2 separate regions of the Homo sapiens genome follow, and region 2 is linked to region 1. Evidence: promoter capture Hi-C in human tissues and cell types (Jung and others, 2019). All regions are on one chromosome and are shown on one strand. The core of a region is centred on a gene start or on the middle of the fragment in contact, and the rest is flanking DNA. Distances in the headings are between cores, read along the strand shown. Region 1 holds the start of CABP1 (calcium binding protein 1). Region 2 has its middle 20 kb from the start of POP5.

What was found. Contacts are between HindIII fragments. The study calls those that stand out against the background at their distance.
Region 2: a fragment that was not itself captured here is called in contact with the fragment with the promoter of CABP1 in region 1 in 1 of the 25 tissues and cell types used here (heart right ventricle).

What each region holds. Positions count from the first base shown.
Region 1 is chr12:120,638,788-120,642,965 of GRCh38, forward strand. It overlaps CABP1 (calcium binding protein 1), which reads left to right and starts at 1,839. Exons shown (of 6, transcript NM_001033677.2): 1 at 1,839-2,552. The coding sequence starts at 1,899. CABP1-DT (CABP1 divergent transcript) reads right to left here and starts at 1,735. Exons shown (of 2, transcript NR_183426.1): 1 at 1,263-1,735. RefSeq lists an enhancer at 1-227 and silencers at 1,699-1,998, 2,219-2,318, 2,329-2,498, 2,719-2,818. The HindIII fragment of the contact is 37,846 bases long and covers 1-4,178 here.
Region 2 is chr12:120,599,297-120,603,474 of GRCh38, forward strand. No RefSeq gene overlaps it. Among named protein-coding and RNA genes, the nearest start is that of POP5, 20 kb to the left of the region's middle. The HindIII fragment of the contact is 9,311 bases long and covers 1-4,178 here.

The DNA.
Region 1 (4,178 bases), core at 589-3,088:
AATTTGCCACACTTTCCTAGTTTACTTTAGCCTCTGGGCAGTTGCTTTCCCAGCCCATCCATTTTCCTTAATTCCTTGCCTATGGATAAGTAAAAGAGGCACACAGGGCCCAGCGCGGTGGCTCACGCCTGTAATCCCAGCATTTTGGGAGGCCAAGGCGGGCAGATCATGAGGTCAGGAGATCGAGACCATCCTGGCTAACATGGTGAGACCCCATCTCTACTAAAAATACAAAAAATTAGCTGGGTGTGGTGGCGGGTGCCTGTAATCCCAGCTACTCGGGAGGCTGAGGCAGGAGAATCGCTTGAACCTGGGGGGCAGAGGTTGCAGTGAGCCGAGATCGTGCCACTGCACTCCAGCCTGGTGACAGAGCAACACTCTGTAAAGAAGCAGACAGTGCAGAGAAGGATGAACTCTTGGCATGAGTGAAGTGTAATATCGGCAATCTGTTTGTGTACCCTTCTTTTTTTTTTTTTTTTTTTTTTTTTTTGAGACAGGGTCTCACTCTGTTGCCCAGGCTGGAGTGTAGTGACCCAATCTCGGCTCACTGCAACTTTCACTTCCCGGGTTCAAGTTATTCTCATGCCTACAAGTGGCTGGGATTACAGGCGCCCACCACCACGCCTGGCTAATTTTTGTATTTTTAGTAGAGACAGGGTTTCACCATGTTGGCCAGGCTGGTCTCGAACTCCTGACCTCAAGTGATCCGCCGGTCTTGGCCTCCCAAAGTGCTGGGATTACAGGTGCGAGCCACTGTGCCCGGCCTCGTGTATCCTTTTAATGAGGCCGAGCGGTGACAAGACTGTGGATGGCATTGGGGCCAGGGACCAGAACAGGGAGAGCCTGGGAGGAACCCCTCCAGCCCCCCGCAAAGCTCAAGCACCGGATACTAAAGAAGAATGGTAGATGGGGCCTCACGATGTGCAGGGGGAAGGGAACTGGCTTAACTGGATGGTCCCCTGTCCGAGCACTGGGCTAGGCCTTTTGTGTGCATAGTATCGTCTGCTGTTACCAAGAAATTAGTTATGCTTATCATCTGCATTTTACAGAAGAGGAGAACAAGGCTCAGAGAGGTTGATGACACCTGCCCAAGTTACCCAGATGGTAGGTGGCAGAGCTGGGATTTGAGATTCAGATAAGGCCTGGGACGCTCCCTGGCTGCCCACCGAGAGCAGGAATTTCTGTAGCATCTAGAAAGGCAGGAAGGTGAAAGAGGGGACAAGAGCTGGAGGGGGAGCAAATGGGTCCTACCTGAGACTTACCATCATCAGGTGCTGCCAGACCTGGCTTCTCTTCTATTCTGAGAACTGATATCCTGTGGCTGACTTACCAGGGTCGTCCTAGTCCCCCCGCACGGTATTGGGAGTGGAGGCAGCCCCACACGGAGGCGCTGGGAGACTTTCCTCCCAGCAGTGTCCTGTCACTGCATTCCGGCCCCTGCGTTTGTAGGCAGTGATGTCACAGAGTGCCTTCATGCTCCTCGGGTCTCCGGTTCTCCCCGGACCTCTGTAGTCCTCATTGCCAAAGTTGTACCCCCTGGGGAGTGCACCCTGCCTGCATTTCTGGAGGTTCGGGCGGTTCCGGGGCTCTGCAGGAGCCTCCAGGCGTGATAAAGAGCGCTGCCGGCACTCCCGGGGTCTCGGCCTCTTTGGGGCCCATTGCCAAGCCCCTTCCCTCCTCGTGCTCCCGCTCCGCGTTGCAGCGTCCCCTTCGCCGCCAGGGGCCGCCCGGAAGCGGGGCTCCCCCAGGGCGGGGCGGGGCAAGGGGCGGGGCGCGGCGGTACCTGGGCCGCCAGGGAGCCGGGGGTGGGCTCTCCGGGGACAGCCGGCAGCGCCCCCAGATCTGCACCGCCAGCCGCCGGGAGCTCCGGGCTCCGGGCGTAGAGGCTGCGCTGTCACATGGGCGGCGGCGACGGGGCCGCATTTAAGCGGCCGGGGGACGGCGCCCGCCTCCAGCGCGTCCTCGGGCTTGGCTCCCGCCGGGAGCCCCGTTCTCTGCCCGCCGGGGGCCCCGCGCCGCGCCGCACCGCGCCGCCCCCGCCGGGCCATGCGAGCGCGGGCCCCGCCGCGATGAGCTCGCACATCGCCAAAAGCGAGTCCAAGACGTCGCTGCTGAAGGCGGCGGCGGCGGCGGCGAGCGGGGGCAGCCGGGCTCCCCGCCACGGCCCTGCCCGGGACCCGGGGCTGCCTAGCCGCCGGCTACCCGGCTCCTGCCCGGCGACGCCGCAGTCGTCCGGGGACCCCAGTTCGCGGAGGCCCCTGTGCCGGCCGGCGCCGCGAGAGGAGGGCGCGCGGGGGAGCCAGCGTGTGCTCCCCCAGGCGCACTGCAGGCCCCGGGAGGCGCTGCCGGCCGCGGCGTCCCGACCTTCGCCGTCGTCGCCGCTGCCGCCGGCCCGCGGGCGGGATGGGGAGGAACGGGGACTGTCCCCGGCGCTCGGCCTCCGGGGCTCTCTGCGAGCCCGGGGCCGCGGGGACTCCGTTCCAGCCGCCGCGTCCGAGGCGGACCCGTTCCTCCACCGGCTGCGCCCCATGCTCAGCTCCGCCTTTGGCCAGGTAAGGGCCGCGCCTCCCGTCAGCGCTCCCGGGAAAGGCGCTCGGGACCCTGCCGGCCGCGGTTGCGCGTCCACAGCCTCCTCCCGCGGCCCGTGGTCCCCCACGGATCACGCCTCGGCTCACCTCGTCCTCCCCGGGCCGGCGCCCTTGCCGGCACTCCTCCTCCCCGTGCCTGATTCAGCACCCCGTGCGCTGTCCACGCTCCGGGCCTCTTGGGGCAAGGCCCTCCCCGCTAGCCTCCCTCATACCCGCCAGAACCCGCCAGTCCTGGAAGAGAGCGACCTCTACGACCGTCCTGGAGATTTGCGGGGGTCAAGGAGGGGCGCTCCGAGCAGGTGGCGCCAAACCCACTCCTCTGGCCTCTGGCCAGTACCGCCAGGGAGGGACTCAGGAGAGCAAGCGGTTTGGAGTCTGGGGGTCAAGAGAGGGGACCTCAGAGAACACAGAATTACTTGAGGGCGAGGGACACTGGCCACTGCCTATCATGTCCCTGAAGGCCTGAGAAAAGTTAGGAGATCCAAAAATATGAGGAAAGAGAAGAGGTGTCTGGGTAGGCATGGAGGGGCATGCAGAGCTGTGGCTCAAACTGGAACTTTGGGGTGGTTTAAGGAGGCTGTCACTCTAGGGATGCCATTGGAAGGGTGAGAAAGGCCACAAAGAGGTCATCAGTGGTTCCCTCAGGCCTTTCCCTCAAGAGTCCCAGGCACCTGGGAGCCTGCCCTTTAAAAGCAGCTCCGTAGTCACAATATAGGTCTACAGTTTGAGGCTGTGCTGCTGGGGAAACAGGCTCAGTAGAAGGAAACCTCTGAACTCCTGAGCAAAAAAGCCAGGGTTTCCCCTAGTTCGGAGTCTGTAATCAAGTCAAACTCATTGGCACAGCTTTGAGACAGTTCTGTGGCAGCCTCCGAGAGGTGTCATGCAGAGGTCTGATTAGAGCGTTTGCGTGGTTTGTAGGGAAACAGGGGGGGCTGTGCCTTTCTGTGCTGAGATCTAGCATAAAGAAGCTGTTTCAAGCTCCTGGCTTGCCACGCCGGATCAGAATTCCAAGGAGGCCCTGTGTGTTTTGCTTCAGATCTGCACATTTCTTTTCAAAATACTACTCGGCAGTGGCTGATGCTGGTGGAGGTCTGACATGAAGGCAGCCGCACATGGATTTGGGTTGCGTGGTGCTGCTGTGGTGGGGCCATAGGGCAGTGGTGTGTGGCTTTGTTCCTGCAGGGAGCCCTCGTTAGCCGAGTTAGCTGGAAACAGTTCTCTGGAGTAGAGATGTGGATGCAGAGCCGTGAGAGTTAGTGAGGCGATGTGTCAGGGGAGTTCACTGCAGTGCTTTGTGTTAATGAGGAGGTGTAGGCTGCCAGGGCACGAGTGGTCTTTGGATTGGGGCTGGGTTGCAGCAGGAATGCTGGGTTGTTGAATGGGTGATACCAATTCATTCATTTATCAATTATTTCTTGAGCATTTATTAAGGAAACCTTCAGGGGTTTCCTTAGTTCCTGTGGTTTGTTTGTTCAGACATTTGCTAGACACCAGGAAGACAACAGTGAACCAGATAGCCAGGGCCCTGGCTGTACCTAGCAGTTTGGAAGGGTAGGTCATTGGCCTAGAATCATACACTTTCTGGTTACT
Region 2 (4,178 bases), core at 689-3,188, 39 kb before region 1:
GTGAATTCACATGCTCCTGACTTAGACTCACATGAGTCACCATCCTGACACTTTCACTTATTAGCCATGTGACCTTGGGCTCTCTGAGCCTTGGTTCACTACCCTGCAGAAAGAGGAGACAAAACCTAACCCTCTTCCTCCAGCATTGCTGGAAAGATTTGTTTTGTTTTGTTTTGTTTTGTTTCTTGAGACAGTCTCTGTCACCCAGGCTGGAGTCACAGTGAATCTCAGCTCACTGCAACCTCCGTCTCCCGGGTACAAGCAATTCTTATGTCTCAGCCTCCCAAGTAGCTGGGACTACCGGCACCTGAGACCACACCTGGCTGATTTTTGTATTTTTAGTAGAGATGGGGTTTTGCCATGTTGGCCAGGCTGGTCTCCAACTCCTGATCTCAGGTGATCCACTCACCTCGGCCTCCCAAAGTGCCGGGATTACAGGTATGAGCCACCGGCAATCCCAGGAAATGAGCCCCTGGAAATATTTCTATTATAATAAAAGTTCACATGTATCGAGCACTTATCCTCAACTACCCTGCGGGGCAGGTATGAATTTTATCCCCATTTTCCAGATAAGGAAACTGAGGCTCAGAATGGGGAAATAACTCTTCGGAGGTCACACAGCTAGCAGGAAGTAGAGCAGGAATTCCAATCCAGGCAGGCCGACTTCAGAGCTCACATGCTTAGCCATATGAATGCATCAGGCATACAATAGTAGGCGCTCAATGGATATTAGCTACTGGTGGCCCTCTGACCAAGGCCCTAGGAAGAACTTGCTTTCATGTTGGCACCGTTTTCCAGGACAAACTCCATCTTTTGTTTATTTTCTTCCCCTCTAATCCCTGCTTGGAAACACAAGGCCTCTTAGCAGTCCCTCTCTGAGGGATTTTCGGATTATTCCCACCTTGATTAGTTCCAGTTTCTCCTGCAGAAGCAGGAGTTATTTTGGGGCCTTGATGGCTCCCTCTGGCTGCCTGTGACCTCCACCCCGTTGCAGACACCTCTCCCTTCACCTGCACGGCTCATTAGCCGCATTCTGCTGCTCGGCTGCTGCTTTCCGTGCCCGCAGTTCCCCGCCCTACCTCGAGGGCCAGCACCTGCTCCCCTCCTCCCGGACCCCACAGCCACTCCTGCCACCCCACTATTTTGCAGGGATAGAGGCTGTTAACTGTTTCTTTTTTTAATTACCATTTTAATTTTTTATTTTTTGAGACGGAGTCTCGCTCTGTTGCTCAGGCTGGAGTGCAGTGGCGCGATCTCTGCTCACTGCAACTGCCACCCCCCAGGTTCAAGCGATTCTCCTGCCTCAGCCTCCCGAGTAGCTGGGACTATAGGCATGTGCCACCATGCACCGCTAATGTTAATTTTGTCACCTGTGTCCTAATCCTCAGACCCCAACTTTGCCTCAGAGCAATGACCCTCCCTCCAGTTCCAGGATTTTCCCAGACTTGAGCAAAAGCTCACACACCATTTGGATGCAAATGGGTTTGGCTGGTGTTCCCACTCCCTGTTCCTGTGGGAACCCAGTCCTCAATGTCATTCAGCCTGGGGCGGGAGCAGTAAAAACTCCCAAGGATGCATTTTATGTGATGTATATTTTACCACAATTAAAATAAAATTCCCAAGGGGTCACAGGACGCCTCCCCGCCTCTGCCACCATGTTATGTCGCCGTGCGTGGGGCCCACGTCACAGGCGTGGGGCGTGGGTTCTGTGGTAGCTGTCTGTTCTCTCTCTGCTCCTGGCTCTTCTTTCCAGCTCTGCGTTCTGCCTCTGCCAGGGCCGCCTGCAGGCCTTGCTTGCTTTTCAAAAATAACTCTTGAGTCTCTCACTGAGCTTGGGGGCTGCTTCCTGGGTGTCCCGGGCTGTGTGTTAATCCTTCCAATGCAAAACTTCCTGAAGCTTAAGACTCTGGGCTGGGCGAGGGAACTGGTCACCAGTGTCGGGCTGAAGTAGCTCAGATACTGACCTGCTGTTCCAGCACCTATGGTAAGGGCAGGTGGGTCCTTCCCAGTGACAGCAAGTCATTCATTCACTCATTAATTCAGATATTTATCAAGCATCCACTAGTGCCTATTGGCTGCTGAGCACACCCCCAGGTGGCCCCTGTTGGTTTCCCATTTGCTCCTCTTTGAATTTCCATTTCCTTCTCTAAAGTAGGGGTTCTCCTTTTTTTTTTTTTGTTAGCTCACTGCAGCCTCTACCTCCTGGGCTCCATCGATCCTCTTACTTCAGCCTCCAGAGTAGATGAGACTACAGGCAGTTGCCACCACGCCCAACTAATTTTGTTTATGTTTTGTAGAGATGAGGTCTCAAGGCCGGGCGCGGTGGCTCACGCCTGTAATCCCAGCACTTTGGGAGGCCGAGGCGGGCGGATCACTTGAGGTCGGGAGTTTGAGACCAGCCTGACCAACATGGAGAAACCCCGTTGCTACTAAAAAATACAAAATTAGCTGGGCGTGGTGGCGCATGCCTGTAATCCCAGCTACTTGGGAGGCTGAGGCAGGAGAATTGCTTGAACCCAGGAGGCGGAGGTTGCAGTGAGCTGAGATCGCGCCATTGCACTCCAGCCTGGGCAACAAGAACGAAACTCCGTCTCAAAAAAAAAAAAAAAAAAAAAAAGAGATGAGGTCTCGCTCTATTGCCCAGGCTGGTCTCAAACCCCTGGGCTCAAGGGATCCTCCTGCTTCAGCCTCTCAAAAGTGCTGGGATTACAGGCATGAGCCACCACGCCTGGCCAAATAGGGGCTCCTAAATTGGGGTGGCCATCAGTCCCAGTGGGAAACAGATGGCAAGCTCAAACTGGGTGACTTAAGGAAGGCTGACTAAAGGGATCATTTAGATGTGGACAGGGTGTACAGAAATCGCAGGAGACAGTGCAGTGCCGAGACTGGTTACAATGGGAGGGCTGTTACCTCCTTAGGCATGGCAGGAGCAGTTCCCACTAGCCAGAAAGTTATGTGGAGAGGGTCACTTTAAGAGAAGCTGTTGGCCAGATGAGGTGGCTCATGCCTGTAATCTGGGAGGCCGAGGTAGGTGGATCACTCGACATCAGGAGTTCGAGACCAGCCTGGCCAACATGGTGAAACCCTGTCTCTACTGAAAATACAAAATTAGCCAGGCGTGGTGGCACGTGCCTGTAGTCCCAGCTATTCAGGAGGCTGAGGCAGGAGAATCGCTTGAACCTAGGAGGTGGAGGTTGCAATGAGCCAAGGTTGCGCCACTGCCCTCCAGCCTGGGTGACAGAGCAAGACTCTGTCTAAAAAAAAAAAAAAAAAAGAAAGAAAAAAAAAAGAGAAGCTGTGACCTTCTGTTAACCAGCCTGAGGTGCCCTTCAGGAGGAAGCAGTTGCATAAATACCCTGAGTCACTCCACCTTCTCCCTTCAGTCTCCTCCCGGGGGCTCCTCCTTGCCCAAACCAGATTAGAAGCCAGGGGATATGGAAGGCTGTTGAGTCTGAACAGCTGAGTCTCCTTGGGCACACGGCAGGCTGGGGAAGTGCCCCAGATGGGCAAATGGAGGATATCGGACCTCTTCCCTGCTAGTAGTAATGGGGGTAGGAATAGTAAGTGATAGAATATATACTTAATAAATATTAGCTATTATACTGGTAGTGTTCATATTAGTTTATTGACTCCTGTGTAACAAATTACCCCAAAACTTAATGGCTTTAAACAATAATATTTATTACCCTACATGGTTTCTGTGGGCCAGGAATTGGGAACAGCTTAACTGAGCGGTTCTGGCTCATGAAGTTGTGGTCGTGGGTACAAAAAAAAAAAAAAAAAAGCTAGAAAGAAAGAATAACAGCCTGGGCAACATGGCAAAATCCCGTCTCTACCCCCGCAACCACGCACAAAAATTAGCCAGGTATGGTGGTGCATGTCTGTAGTCCCAGCTACTTGGGAGGTTGAGGTGGGAGGATGGCTTGAGCCTGGAGATCAAGGCTGCAGTGAGCTGAGATCGTGCCACTGCATTCCAGCCCGGGTGACAGAGTGAGACCCTGTCTCAAAAAAAAAAAAAAAAAAGTGAATGAATAAATGAATGAGCCCTAGTATTTGATGGCACAGCAGGGTGCGGCTATGGTCAATTATATGTATATATATAAAAAATTGTTGTTGCATTTTAGCTTTTTAATTTATTTTTTAAATTAAATTAAATTAAATTAAATTTTGTTTTTTTT